Linked DNA regions of Homo sapiens: region 2 is linked to region 1. Evidence: promoter capture Hi-C in 16 types of primary human blood cells and fetal thymus (Javierre and others, 2016). All regions are on one chromosome and are shown on one strand. Each heading gives the region's core, a stretch centred on a gene start or on the middle of the fragment in contact. The rest is flanking DNA. Distances are from core to core; before and after follow the strand shown.

Region 1 (7,181 bases), core at 64-2,563:
GGAGAAGTCTGGGATGGGGCCCGGGCCAGGATTCGGCAAGAGACCTCAGGCTGAGCCCAGAGCTGAGCACCAATGGGGTGTGGGGTTGGGTAGGGAGGAGTGGGGTGCAGATTGTGAGCAAAGTCAGAATTCTTAAATGAAAGGAGCTGGTTCAGGTCCCCCTGCCTCTGGGGAGTTCCCTGACTGGTGAAAATAAGGCCTATTCTGAAAATGCTTAGAAAAGATCCAATGCAGGGGATGAATACGCTACAGGCACTGTGTGGGGGAAGGGTAGGAGCTGGGGAATAAGGATGAAATGGGACTTGGTGCCAGCACAGCAGGCTTCCTGGAAGCAGTGGCTTTGTGGGAGGGGAAGGCCCAAGATAGCCTGTGTCACAGATGGCCCTGGCTTTCAGGCTGGCACCTTTAGTGACCTGCAGTGAGGTCCTTCATCCATGAGGGACTCTGGCCCACCTTTCTCTGCCTCCTGGTGAGAGTGCCTCTAACTTGTAACCCACCCGGAATGGCAGTCCTGTGCTCCCTCGGCATGTCCCCCAGGCTGGGGCACAATATCACAATGGACCAGGAAATCCTTCCTCGCCTCTAATTCTGTTTCTCCTGCTGCAAACAATGTGGGCATCACTCATCCAAGCAGCTACTGGGCAACTGTACTAGCGGCTCCCAGGGGCTGTTAGTCAAAGCCTTCACTGAACCAGGACCTTTTAAAGTTTCTTATTTTGAGAATTTTCACATATACCAAAGAGTATAGCAAAATAAACATCCATATACTCCTCACTCCAGTTTAGCAAACGTGACTATTTCGAAGTCATTGGAAGCACAGAAGAACCTGGCAAAGTGTTCCCTTGGAGCTAAGACCTCCTCCACACCTGCCCTGTGCCCTCGCCACGCCTCTGGACTTAAAAGTGGAGGTGGAGGGATTACTCACAGCACTGGAGCAGCACCAGGACCACAAAGCCTGAAGAGAAATCCAGGATGAGACCCCTGCAAGTGCATCCTGCCCTTCCGCCCTGCTCCCTCCCCCAAGCAACTGAGACCCACCTCCCCCACCCCCACCTCCTGGTTGCAGCCTCAGTCCCTCCCCTGGCTCTGCTTCTCCTCCCCCTCTGCCCACTCCCTTAGTCCCTCACCCAGCAGGCAGATGGCTCTGCGGGCTGTCTGGGCCTGAAAACCCACAACTCTGATGGATTAACCTTGGCTAGCCCAGATACCTGTTTGAGACGCCTTCACACCCATTCTGGCTGCAGCAGAGCAGGGCAGGGTGTGGCCTCTTCCCTTGCCCACGGCTCCTGGTGCCAGCTACCTAGACAGGGCCTCTTCCCCAGGCCCTGTACTTCCTTTATATACCTGTCCCACTCCACTCCCCGACGCGGCAAACCAGCCCTTTTATGGGAACTGAGCTATGTGTCAATGAAGGAATCACGAGGCTGGCAAGTGGAGGCGGGGGAGTACTATGGATTACCAGAGGAGGGTTGAGAAACCGCAGAGTTTTGAAAACTTTGGGTCAGGTCTTCATGAGGCACCTGCCAGCAGAAGAGCCACTAGGGTGATGATGGGGGGCTTCTGGAGATGTGACTCAGCCGCATTTCCCAGCCTTCCTCCCACTCCTGCACCCCACCACTGGCCTTTCTTGCCAGCAATTTCCTGGCTTTTCTGGCAGCCTCTACCTTTGCATCTTCAGCATTCACTCCAGGCCCCTGGCCAGGTGGAAACTGGGCACAATTTAGTTACGTAAGCCACAGTGCCCTAAACAAGGCTGTTGTTTTCTTCCCAGGCTCAGCATTGCCCTGCTTGACCTACCTTCCTACCCTCCCCCTCACACTTTCTGTCTTCAGGCTGGGTAAGGGCCAGAGAGCCTCGGGAGGAAGGAAAGCAAAGAGCCTGAAACTGAGCGCTCCCTTTTGGGCCCGTGTCTTTTTTTTTTTTTTTTTTTTTTTTTTTGCAATTTACATGCTGATTATTTAGAGGGAAAGACAGGGAAATTCCCAAGAATGCTTTAAGCCCCGGTGCTATTTTGCTTCTGTTTTGAAATTCCCATAAAGAGAGAGGATCTTTTGCAAGCTCGGTGCTGCAGTGAGGCACCATGGAGGAAATACAGGCCCTACGGGGCGGCTGCACGAGCATCTGACATCAGTCAGCTCCCCAACTCTCTCAGTGAGGCTTTGGAACCCAAGCCTGATGATACAGCCCCTCTCTAAATCCTTCAGTGATCTCTCATCACTCCTAGGACAAGAACAAAACTTCTTAACGAGGCTCCCTGCCTGATTACGTCCCTGTTTGTGGATACATTTTTTTTTTGGCCAAATATCCAGGACAACTCCATTCTTTGCAGGCTTAACATTAATTAATAGGCAGTGAGTGAAAAGTTCAGAACTCCAAGAGGCAGAATGGGTCCAAGGGCTTCTCAAGAAAGTACCTTTATTTTTCACTAATGTTAGGTAATACTCTAATTTTTCCAGGCTGGTTTTGCAGCTCTCTCGGTGAGGTCTCTCTGCTCTCTCCCTCTTCTCTCCCTCTCTCCCTTTCTCTTCCTTTAAAACTCAGCCAGTGCCTTCCCTTCATTGTAAGAGAGGTGGACAAAAAGTGGCTTGTCCAGAATCACGCTCGGTGAATACTAAAGAGGCATCACTTTTCCTTTTTAAGATGACTGCCTCCTTTTGTACCCAAGATGATTGACAGCAATGACAGTCAATGATAGCTTCTTCTGGTTCATTTGGGGCACTGAGAGGAGGACTTCTAATTTCTAATAGTGATATTATGAAGTGGCATGCAGATGCAAAATTTTTCATCACAGAGCACAGGATGTTAAGAAAACACCTCCTATTTTCACTATCTCCCTTTGTTAAAAATTATTTCATAGGCTTAGATTGGCCCAAGCCTTGTTGTCCTATGCTCCCTCAAGCTCAGTTTATTAATTCCACATGCTCTGCCTGAAGGCAGCTTTGTAACAACAAATGGCCAAGATACCCCCAGGCCTGTGTTAGCAGGATTGGCCAAGGGTCTCATAGGCTCACCACCTCCCAGCCTTATCTCAGGCCATGACCCCCACCCTCCCTATATTCCACTCATGCTTATATGTCTTCTTTTAAATCCTTATATTTGCTCTACTGACTCCCGCCACAGGGCCTTTATATATGACATCCACTTGCCTGTAAATAACGATGAAAGATCTGAGATTTTATGCTACTTGCAAATTAATGACATAACTACAGTTTCGTGGATGTTGGCAGAAGACACGAGACTCCTAGGTCAGAGACAAAGGACTTTATTATCCATGGTACAGCAAGCAGCATGAACTTCATGTTAGGGTCAGTTCCCCTTAGCCCTCAGGTCTCACAAGGGCAGTGTTGGAGGAGCCCAGGTAGATGCCATGAATGCAATGAGTTACATCACAGCAGAGGAATCCCTAGTTTAAGGAACTCAAATCTTTCATGATGAGCAGTAAGCCTTCCTCACCTTGGCCAGCCCAAGATAAGGGAGACATTATCTTTATTACTGGACAGTAAACAAATCTGCCTTTTGGTCTGGAGGGGGGACGCTATTTCTATCTTCCAAGGCTGTTTGCTGTACAAACATCACTAAAAAGATTGCCTAGAACAAAGAAGCCAGTGCCTCTGCACATAAGCTGTGCAGGAAATGCAGGCAACCCATGGAGAATTGCGGTTGGAGAATTGCGGATGGAGAATTGCAGCCTAACACTGCTCTTCTTTGACTGCTTTATTCTTCCTCATCCTTCAGATTGCAGCTCAGGAGTCACCTTGTCTGCAGAAAAGGCAGTCTCCAGGTGACAGAAAACCCGCTATAGGGCTGTCAGAGCACTTTGTACCTCTCTCCTTAACACCTGACTCAGTTATAATTTTATATGTTGTGTGTGGCAGTGGATGTTTTGTTTGCCTCTCTCACTAGACTATAAACTCAGTAAAGGCAACGGCTGGGTCATTTTATCCACCTTTGTATCTATCCCCAGTGCTTGAGACATAGTAGATGCTCAGTAAAGTACTCGTTGAATAAATGAACAAATGATCTCAAAATGGTGCATAACTTCACACTCTTATGAGTTTAAACCCTGATGTTCTCAAAATTTCATCTCATTCAATAGTTTTTGTTACCCTGTGAAGAACTGACTCAGGAGGTGCCATAAAACCACAAAACAAGCTTCCTGACTTAATTTCCCTAATCAAACATTTCTAGGCCCCACAGTACATTGATAGTGTTCAACCAATGTTTATTAAGTAAGTGTACTAGAGTAGTTGCCTTCCACTGAGGTAGACAGTAGAGACAGAAAGGTGAATGGGAACAGAGAGGCAGTCCCTGTCCTCATGAAGCATACAGTCTGGCAAAGAAGATGGACATTAAACAAAGAAAAGCAAGTAATGTATTACGAAGGAAGGGCAGGTGTTAGTCTGCCCCTTGCCCACCGTCCCCTACACACAAAAAAAATTGTGCAAAAACCTGGAGCAGGAAGAGGTTGTTATGTTCAGGAACCAGAAGAATTCAAGAGTGGTTGAGGCATGGAATTAGCAGGAGGGAGCTCGAGGGAGGCACAAGATGAGTCTGGATCAGGAGCCAGAGGGTGGACATTACCACCATTCAGAAAACAAGCTCCTGGGAGCCTGGGCTGGCCCCTTGGGCACAGTGGTTTTGAGGATTCCTTCATTTTGCATGGCGTGTCAGAGCAAACAGAGGTGGTGTTGATGCCCCACCAAATGCTTGAGGAGAATTCTCTCTTTTACAAGTAGTCTCTTCCTCCAGAGGGTGGACTTCTGCCAGGCAGGAATTCAAATCATCTCCAAATCCTCAGCTCGGTGGTGGTGCTGGCGCACAGTAGAAGCTGTCGAAGACTCAGAGGCAGAAACACTTAGAGAAGAAAACAGTTGCTTGTGAAAAGCGGAAGCGAGTCAGATTTCAGAATGGCTGGCTCGTCAAATGCAAAATGCAACAAGTATTTGAAGGGGAAAAAAAAATGACCCAAGGTTATCACGTTTGGTGGAGATCAGCATCATTTTTACAACACATCTTCACTTATCAGCATAGCAAAAATCAGGGATGAAATTGTTTTTTTCGGGGAATTTTTTTTCTTTTTGAGACAGAGTCTCACTCTGTCACCCAGGCTGGAGTGCAGTGGCGTGATCTGGGCTCACTGCAGCTTCGACCTTCTGGGCTCAAGCCATCCTCCTGCCTCAGCCTCCCAAAGTGTTGGGATCAATGGCGTGTGCAACCACACCCAGCTGGGAATCCAAATTTATGGGAAATAGCCAAGGCTTATTATTTTGGTGTCTTAAACCACTCAGGATAACCTATTATTCTTGGCTTATCTCCAGATGCAAATTATTCCCATCCCCACCCCGCAGTGGTACTTGGTCATGAATGAAGCCAGTAGAGTGAAGAGTTGGGCTTTGCGTCTACGGATTTTCCTTCCTTGTGGGCAAGTCCTTGCCATTGAGGCATGGGTTGAACCGTATATGTTGCTTAATAACTTCCTGATGCAGCATCATCAAATTGATATTTTGTTTTATTTGACCAAAATTTATTTCTATTGACATAACAGGAGGTGTTGATGAAATAAATACTTTCTTTTTGTATGGCTAGCGAAACCAGAGCCACATGATAGTGATGCTTTACAGTGAGCTTCTGTCTGGAGGCTTTGTAAAGCCCCTAGGGCTGGGAAGAAATTACTTTTATGTGTGAAGTATTATATCAGCACCATTTTCTCTAAGATTCCCATATGTGTTAATATTCCTAGACTGCCAGGAAATGTAGGTTTTATTTATTTATTTATTTATTTATTTATTTATTTATTTTACTACCTCTAAGGCTGCAATGTCATCAGTTCTAAAGCCATACCAGAGTTTTCTAGAGGACTTCATAGGTGTCATTTCCACATGTAAAATGTAGTCTTTATTCCTTAATAGTGGCTTATCATATAACAAAAATTCTTTGCTTGGCCAAATTTCAGGCGGGCTTCTGAATCTTCTCCTAGGCCCATCTGTGCACTTCCTTGTAAAATCCAGTTTTAGCAAAGAGCCCTGCTAAGTCAATTTAGCAAGAACCCCCTACCCTCAACATCTGAATACCTTGACATCTGACCAGGTTCCTTGTCCTTTATCATGCCCCAGGGGATGTCTGACCACCCTGGCCTGTCTGCAGCAAGAATCCTGTTAAGTCTGTTTAGCCAGAATCCCCCTTACTCCTGTTTCCTCTTAGTAACTTCTGTCTACAGACCCCCTGGTCCTTAGCTACTGATTTCCACTTGCCCATGCTGTATTTAGAGTTGAGCCCAATCTCTCCCCCCAACTGCAAGACCCCATTGCCCTGGTTCCTGTACCTGTCATAATGATCTTGGATAAAGACATCCTTACATACTTCAACAAGTGGCATTGGATAATTTTTTTCTTTAACACATACCTAATTAAATGGAATTTTGGCATGGTCAGTATCCAATTATTTTCTGGTAAGAAAAAGGACAGATTCTCATTGGATCTATATAAATAACATGATCATAAACATTCATTCTATCTAGAAGTGAATAAGCTATATTAATTTGGTTCCAATTTTCCCCCTCAAATGTATAACATAGGATATTTGATCATAAAAAGTAAAGGAACTTGTAAAAGCATGGGTAAGAGGAGAAAACATAAACTGTGCTTGTTCTGTTCTCTCACTCAACACAATGACCACCATCAACACAGGAGACTTCTGCCACCAAATGTGTGGGTCTCTCCCCATCACCAAGCAAGCATTTGCAATGGACACCAGCTGGGTGTCCTCCAGTTCAATTCTGATGCTCTCGGCCTGCAGAGAGCATCAGATCCCACAGGTTGAGGGCTCATTCCTACAAGACTGCCGCCCCTTCAGGCATCAACCACAAGTCTGGGCCTCTGGAACTTTTGACTGACCAGCTTCAAGTTGGGGTTCCCACATTCACCTCTTTAGGTTTAATTTGTTAGAGAGGTTCACAGAACTCAGGGAAACACATTTACCGGTGCATTATAAAAGATATTACAAAGTACACAGATGCTGAGATACACAGGGCGAGGTATGGGGAAGGGGCTTGGAGCGTCCATGCCCTCCTTGGGGGTGCCGCTCTCCAGGAACCTCCACATGCTCAGCTACCTGGAAGTGCTCTGTACCCAGTCATCGTGGGCCTTTATGGAGACTTCACTGGGTAGTCATGATTGACAACC
Region 2 (7,181 bases), core at 4,272-6,771, 140 kb before region 1:
GGTAGGGGAACCACTGCCACTGCGGCTGCACTTCTGACAGCTGTGGGGAGCAGGGGGAGGCAGAGGCTGGGCAGTAGGCATGTGCATTCCTTGGGAGAACTAAGGAGGTGCCATCAGAGTGAGTAAGCCTGGAGAAGGGGCATGCGCCAGCACCTCCCTCTCCTCCCCCATGTTCTAGTTCAGGTCCTGTCTCCTCTGCTCCACCCCCTCCCCTGATGCCCTTCTCCACCCAGTTGGTACTCACAGCAGTCTCTTTTCCCACAGACACACTGCCCTCCAGAAACGATGGGTGTCGCTAGATCCAGCTGGGACTCTGCCAGCCTCCGGCACTCAGTCTAAGAGAAGGGCCATCTTCCAGCCCTGCTGTCCCTGCCTGTCATGGCCACATTCGGCTGCTGTCTGCATGTCTGGGGACACAGGGCACCCAGCCCCAGCCCTGAGAAGTTAAGCCAGGCCTTCTGGCTCAGTTCCACAGGGGCACTCCAGACCCCAGGCCCCTTTCAGAGCAAAAGCAACTGATGCTATGGGAGAAGCCCCTGCCCACCTGTCCACTCGCCTGGCACTGCCCACTCTGAGACCCATGCACTGGGTTCCCCTGGAGGTGCCAACCCTGTGAGTCCCTCCCTGTCCCCTGACGCTGAGAAGGCCCTGCCAACCCCCACCATGTGTGAGGTGATGCCCACAATCAATGAGGGGGACCGCCTGGGTCCCCCTCATGGCGCCGATGCTGACGCCAACTTCGAGCAGCTGATGGTGAACATGCTGGACGAGCGGGAGAAGTTGCTGGAGTCTCTTCGGGAGAGTCAGGAGACCTTGGCGGCCACACAGAGCCGGCTCCAGGATGCCATACACGAGCGGGACCAGCTCCAGCGCCACCTTAACTCCGCCCTCCCCCAGGTAAGGCCCGAAGGCCTGCGTCTCTCTTAACCCCTTTCCCTCCTCTAGCCCTGCTAGATCCACTGGGCCCTCAGCTCATCTGCATCTATTTGCATATCAATAATTGGAATTCACTGAGCATTTACTCTCCTTCATCTCTCTACGTGAATTCTTTCCCTGTCACTCCCATGCTCCTCAGTCTGGAAGGTGAAATGGATGGAATTTGATGTGGGTAGAAAAACGCAGCCATAGGTGTCAGCTACAGTGAGCTCAGGCGGCCAGTAGGTGGCACCCTAGACTGGAAAGAAACCTCCTCCCTGCGTACTCCTCTCCAGTGCCCTATTCTTGGAGGTGGGTGGGGAATCACAGACAGTAGAGATGGGTGAGTTCTTAGAGATCATCTCGTCCAGCTCCGTTATTGCATAGATCAAAAAAGCAAGAGACATCACATGGAAGATGATAGGCAGGGCTGAATCTAGCAGCCAGATGTCTCGACATCCTGTCTCACACTCAACAGCACAACCACCAGCTGTCCTGTAGTCCCGTGTACTGTGTCCTTTCTGTGGACCAAGCACTTTATAAGGATTCTCTCACTAAACTCTTACAACCCTGAAGTTGGTGCTGTTACCACCATCATCCCATTGTACAAATCACGGAACTAAAGCTGGGGAGATGAGTAAGTTGCTCGTGGCCATGCAGGTAGTGTGTGGTGGAGGCAGGAACTGAGCCTGGGGCTAAGTTTCTCACCACTGCACCTATTTCTCCCTCACTGCATTGGCCTGGGAGCTCCCTGCTGATGCCTGCTTATCACCCACTTGGTAGATATTCCAGGCATGGCGCATGCTCTGGGAATGCAGGAGGGAGCAGGAGCCTGGATGATTTGGTTCTTGGGCTGTTTAGCTGCTGCTTGTCAAAGAAGCTGTGAACTCTGCCTGATAACCAGACCCAGAGAGGGCTGGGGGTTGTGTGTCTGTGAGACAGTGCTCACAGTGACTGTGGGAACATCCTGCCCTCTCTGCCCCTCGTATGAGCAGAGAGATGGGTATTGAAAGCCAGCTGTGGACACATGGCATAGCCTACCCTGACCCAGTGGGGGCGCTGCTGGGGTTGGGAAGGCAGCCCTGAGGAGCCGAAGAGCTCAAGCCTCAGCGCCAGGCCCTTCCCAGTGTGTGGGGAAGAGAACAAGGGCTGGGCCTGAGTGGGTGAGTTTCCTACACAAAAGTGATGCTTGGTGGACAAGAATACAGAGCCCTGGTGAAGCAGTTGGGTGGGCAGGTGGGGACCTCCTCTTTCACTGTGCACGAGGCTCTGAAGTTGCCCTAGAGTGAATGAACTAGTTCCTGCCACCAAGGAGCTCATAGACTAGGAAGGAGATACACCACCCATGTGACCGGAGAGAATGCAGAGGAAGATAAGAGAGGCCCAAAAGGGTTATTAAGCACAGTATCAGTGATAAAAATAGCTGCTTTTGATGGGCTTGGGCTAAGTGCTTTCTATACATTGGCTCATTTGACTCTCATACCAGCACCTGGAGGGAGGACTGTTACGTCTGTCTTACAGATCAGAGAATGAGGCTCAGAGAGATTAGGTAACTTATTCAAGATCATACAGCTAACAGGGGCAGAGCTGAGATTTGATCCCAGGCCTACTTGACTTCCCACACTGAAGCTTCATGAGGTCAGGGGTTGTGTCTTTCTTGTCACTATATCCCCAGTGATCTGCACAGGACCTGGTACATGATAGGTGCTCACAAATATTTGTGGTTGAATGATGGACTCCCAAGTTGGTGTTCTTGACCACTCCTCCAAATGGCTTTCAGGAGAGGGAGAGAGCCTCCCCGTGGGGAGTCTGGACAGCTCCCAGCAAGGCTGTATCCTTTGAGATGGGCTTTGAAGGATGATTATGATTTCATCGGGTGGTGACAGAGGTTTTTCCAGGGGGAGGGAGTCCACTGAGCCAAGATGTGATATTAGGAAGGCATGCTGGTGTTTAGAAGCAGCAGGTGATCCAGGTTGACTGGGTCTTAGGTGATATGGAAATGACATGAGAGAGAAGTTTGAAAACCAGGATAAGAAGTTTGTATTTGTAGGCTGGGTGCAGTGCCTCACTCCTGTAATCCCAGCACTTCAGGAGGCTGAGGTGGATGGACTGCTTGAGGTCAGAAGTTCAAGATCAGCCTGGGCAATGTGGCAAAACCTCATCTCTACAAAAATCCCCAAAATTAGCTGGGCATGGTGGCAAATGCCTATGCTGCCAGCTACTCGTGGGGCTGAGGTGGGAGGATCGCCTGAGCCCAGGAGGTCCAGGCTGCAGTGAGTTGAAATTGAGTCACTGCACTCCAGCCTGGGTGACAGAGGAGACCGTCTCCTGTGTTTGTAGACAGCATTGTGCTTTGGGAGATTTGTAGACAGCAGGGTGTCAGATAGGTTAGAGGTGGAAGGGAGGGGACAGGTATCCTGTGGTGGGGGGAGATAAGACAGCTGCTGAGCTTGAGGCCAGGAGAGGGGGCAGCACCAGCCTTTTGGTGGTGGTGTCATGGTGTAGGGCTGGGTGGCAGGCTGTCAAGCCCTGTCTCTGGTTACAAGCATGTGTACATGACTGTGTGTGCCTGTGAAAGTGTGACTGTGTTTGTGCATAAGCTGAGGGGTGAGACAGCATCAGGCCTGGGCTTCTGGAGTATGAGATGCTTGACCTTGACCACCTTTGGCCATGGCCCTGACAGAAAGGCAGTAATTGAGTAATAATGTCAGAGGTTCATGGTTTCTCATGCTCTGGCATCTCTTGTCCCTTCTGCCCTCCCACAACCCTTCTAGCCCCTTTTGCCCTATCTGGAGTGATGAGAGGGGATTGGGAGTTCTTCCTTTGGTCATGAATCCTTGGTGTGTGAGGGAGGCTGCAGGTTAGGACAGGGATGAGGCCTGTTGCATCGCTCTTAGACCTTGGACATCCACAGAGTTGGGGCCACTCATTTGAAAACCTCCCTGGAAGGAGGTGATGTTTAGCTAAACAGGATATGATGAGCCTGGAATGTGGGAGCAGTCTCTCACCCCTGTATGCTTGTCCTGATGGGGGAGGGTGGGCTGGCAAGGTCTCTGAAGTTATCTGGGCCTGACAGTGTGGAAATGGGCCCCTCTAGAAGTGATACTTGGTACATGGATATTTGGTAAAGCCAGGGCAACTGCCTTGGCATCAGGAGCTGGGATGTAGCCCTTGCTTGGTTGAGCAGGGCTCCTAGAAAGCCTGACTGGGCAGGTCTGCATACTCTCTTGCTCCTATGTAGGTAGGTCCTTTGATCTGCTTATTTCACCCGCTACTTGCAGTTTGCAAAGCCTTGGGATGGGGCTGGAAGAGCTCCCTGGGGCACTCATGCAGGCATTATCTTCAAAAGCTCTTTCTCTTCCCTGTTTCTTTTATTTATTTATTTTTATTTTTCGAGACGGAGGCTCACCCTGTCGCCCAGGCTGGAGTGCAGTGGTGCCACCTCAGCTCACTGCAACCTCCGCCTCCCGGGTTCAAGTGATTCTCCTGCCTCAGCCTCTGGAGTAGCTGGAATTACCCAGGTGTGCGCCACCACGTCTGACTAATTTTTGTATTTTTAGTCGAGACAGGGTTTCACCATGTTGGCCAGACTGGTCTCAAACTCCTGACCTCAGGTGATCTGCCCGGCTCAGCCTCCCAAAGTGTTGGGATTACAGGCGTGAGTCACTGTGCTGGGCCTTCTCTTCCCTCTTTCATATCCATCAGTTTCTGTTTGGACCTTAATCCACCAAACCAGAAGCAGAATTCCCCTCCATCAGTTTCTAAAGGAAAATGTCATTGAATTCCTGGAGAAATGGAAATGCCAGGTGGGAGGGAGGATGTAATCTGGTCATATTGGTGGCTGGATGGGGAAGGGTCTGCAGAGCAGACTCAGTGACTTTCTCACTCTTGTGTACAACTCTGTTCCCTTGGATTCTAACACATGGAATGCATGGAGGACCCAGAGATGTGGACCCCTCTGGAGAAGCACATGCTAGCTACAGGTTTACTGACCTGCAGTGTGGATGGATTGGGATTTTGTGGGGGAGGTGGTGGAAGTAAGGGATGGGTGAGAGGATCCCACCACTGACTTGCATGTGCAGGACACTGCTTTGGGGGTGAATCCTGAAGCACTGAGGGGCCTTGGGGGTTTTCAGGAATTTGCCACCTTAACCCGGGAGCTGAGCATGTGTCGGGAGCAGCTTCTAGAGCGGGAGGAAGAGATATCAGAACTGAAAGCAGAACGGAATAACACACGGGTAAGTGGGGATGACCTTGTGTCGCGCGCGCGCACGTGTGTGTGTGTGTGTATGGGGGTGTGTTGTGAACACCTTGACCAAGAGAGCAGGCAAGAGTGGGGCCAGGCACAGTCCTAGCTCAAGCCCCATCCTTCCCTCTTCCTGTCTCCCATCCTGGGGTGAGAGTTACATCGTTTAACCACCAGTGCTGGGCTCTCCACCTGTAGTTGCTGGTTCACAGAAAGCTCAGGGTCCTGGGGAGAGGCCGGGGCAGTCACCTTGAGTAGTATCAGTTGGGGCGGGAGCTCTGTGCCCATTTGGAAGTATTTCAGTGTTTTCACAGTGGGGTGGCTGTAACTCATGTCTGCTCGGGGATCACATGGACCCTGCTTGTAGCCCCTGGGGCACATGCTTACAGCCCTCCCTCTCACCCTCCCCTGCTCTCCCTGCCAGCTGCTTCTGGAACATCTGGAGTGCCTGGTGTCCCGCCATGAACGGTCACTGCGGATGACTGTGGTGAAGCGCCAGGCCCAGTCACCTTCGGGGGTCTCCAGTGAGGTGGAGGTGCTGAAGGCCCTCAAGTCACTGTTTGAGCACCACAAGGCCCTGGATGAGAAGGTGCCCACCTGCCCGCCAGCCCCCACATCCAGCCAGGCTGCCCTGGAGCCTCCCATGTATCCCTTCTCTGAGATTTCCACATCCGGTATTTAGGGAGCACTGGCTCCCTCCAAACATTGTCTTAACTTCAAGGTCCTCCTGTTAGGCTCCCTCCTGCAAATGTGCTGCTTAGTAGGCCCTTCACTGTCCTCATGCTCAGTGGTGGTAGACCAAGCCCAGTCTCTTCCAGCCTGACTCAAGTGGGGTCCCCCTTTCTTCCTCCATCTCCCCTTACCTCGAGCAGGTGCGAGAGCGGCTCCGGGCAGCGCTGGAGCGAGTCACCACCTTGGAGGAGCAGCTGGCAGGTGCCCACCAGCAGGTAATCTGCCTGCTCACCCTCAGTCTGCAGCTCCTGGAAGTCCAGGCTGGTTCACCCCTGTGCCCTACTCTGTTTCTTGTCAGATTTCTCCCTGCCATGGCTGGAAGCTGCTAGGCAAGGCTAGGCTGAGCACCTCTTTCTAGGAGACATTTTTTAACTAAGACAGGGGCTTTGGAAGGGTCTGGAATGTATGGGAGGTTCTCTTCTCTTTGACTCATTGCCCTGGGGCTTGTGCCCTACAGGTGTCTGCCCTGCAGCAGGGGGCAGGGGTGCGGGATGGAGCGGCAGAAGAGGAGGGGACTGTGGAGCTGGGGCCGAAACGCCTGTGGAAGGTAGGTCATGGAGAGCTGTGTAGCAGGGGTCATGTGTTCCCCAAGGTGGGAGGTTGGAGGCCCGGCTCTGCCTTAGTTCAGTAGACTAACTGCTTGAATTAAATTTGAGGCTTTCTCTGATATTCCCCCTTCTCTTTTCTTCTTCTCCCTACCCCATCTGCAATGAAATCTGTAGATTTTTATTTTAGTGCCCAACACATGCTGGGCACATCATACGCTTGTCTGCTTGAATTGTTAGGCACCATCTGCCTCATGTGGCAGCATCAGGCAAGATTCCTTCTCTGTCTGAACCTTTGTTCCCCCAGTCACGCCCCTTTCTGGGTTACAAGAGGCTGGCATAGCAGATAAAACTAGAAACTTGTTTTCAAGAGAGACAAAGGATAGCAAGGTGTTTGGTCATTGTCAGGAGTGACCTCCTGGGGCCCAGAGGGAGGCAGTTGTAGCCAGAGGAGTGCTGTGATGTTGGGGGCAGAGCCTTGACCTGCTCTGGGTGTGCTGTTCCTCCTTCCACCCCTGGGATAGGGGAGTGGGGTGGGTGGGATGCTGCTGTGACTCACAGAGCTACTGTCCCTATCCCTGGAGGAGGATACGGGCCGGGTAGAGGAGCTGCAGGAGCTCCTGGAGAAGCAGAACTTTGAGTTGAGCCAGGCCCGGGAGCGACTGGTCACCCTAACAACAACCGTGACTGAACTCGAGGAGGACCTGGGCACGGCCCGCCGGGACCTCATCAAGTCGGAGGAG

Evidence for each region. The method cuts DNA at HindIII sites, captures the fragments that hold promoters and counts their contacts. A CHiCAGO score of 5 or more calls a contact.
Region 2: a fragment that was not itself captured here is called in contact with the fragment with the promoter of CHI3L1 in region 1 in 7 of 17 cell types (M0 macrophages, M1 macrophages, M2 macrophages and 4 more); the score reaches 10.1 in M0 macrophages.

The regions. Positions count from the first base shown.
Region 1 is chr1:203,185,391-203,192,571 of GRCh38, forward strand. CHI3L1 (chitinase 3 like 1) reads right to left here and starts at 1,314. Exons shown (of 10, transcript NM_001276.4): 1 at 1,209-1,314; 2 at 926-955. The coding sequence starts at 1,233. The HindIII fragment of the contact is 7,916 bases long and covers 1-4,150 here.
Region 2 is chr1:203,038,346-203,045,526 of GRCh38, forward strand. PPFIA4 (PPFI scaffold protein A4) reads left to right here. Exons shown (of 30, transcript NM_001304331.2): 2 at 265-897; 3 at 5,052-5,153; 4 at 5,586-5,750; 5 at 6,034-6,108; 6 at 6,351-6,440; 7 at 7,023-7,181. The coding sequence starts at 664. Among named protein-coding and RNA genes, the nearest start is that of PPFIA4, 15 kb to the left of the region's middle. RefSeq lists enhancers at 909-1,068, 2,750-3,251, 3,252-3,751, 6,470-7,108, 7,109-7,181 and a silencer at 6,196-6,490. The HindIII fragment of the contact is 5,958 bases long and covers 2,543-7,181 here.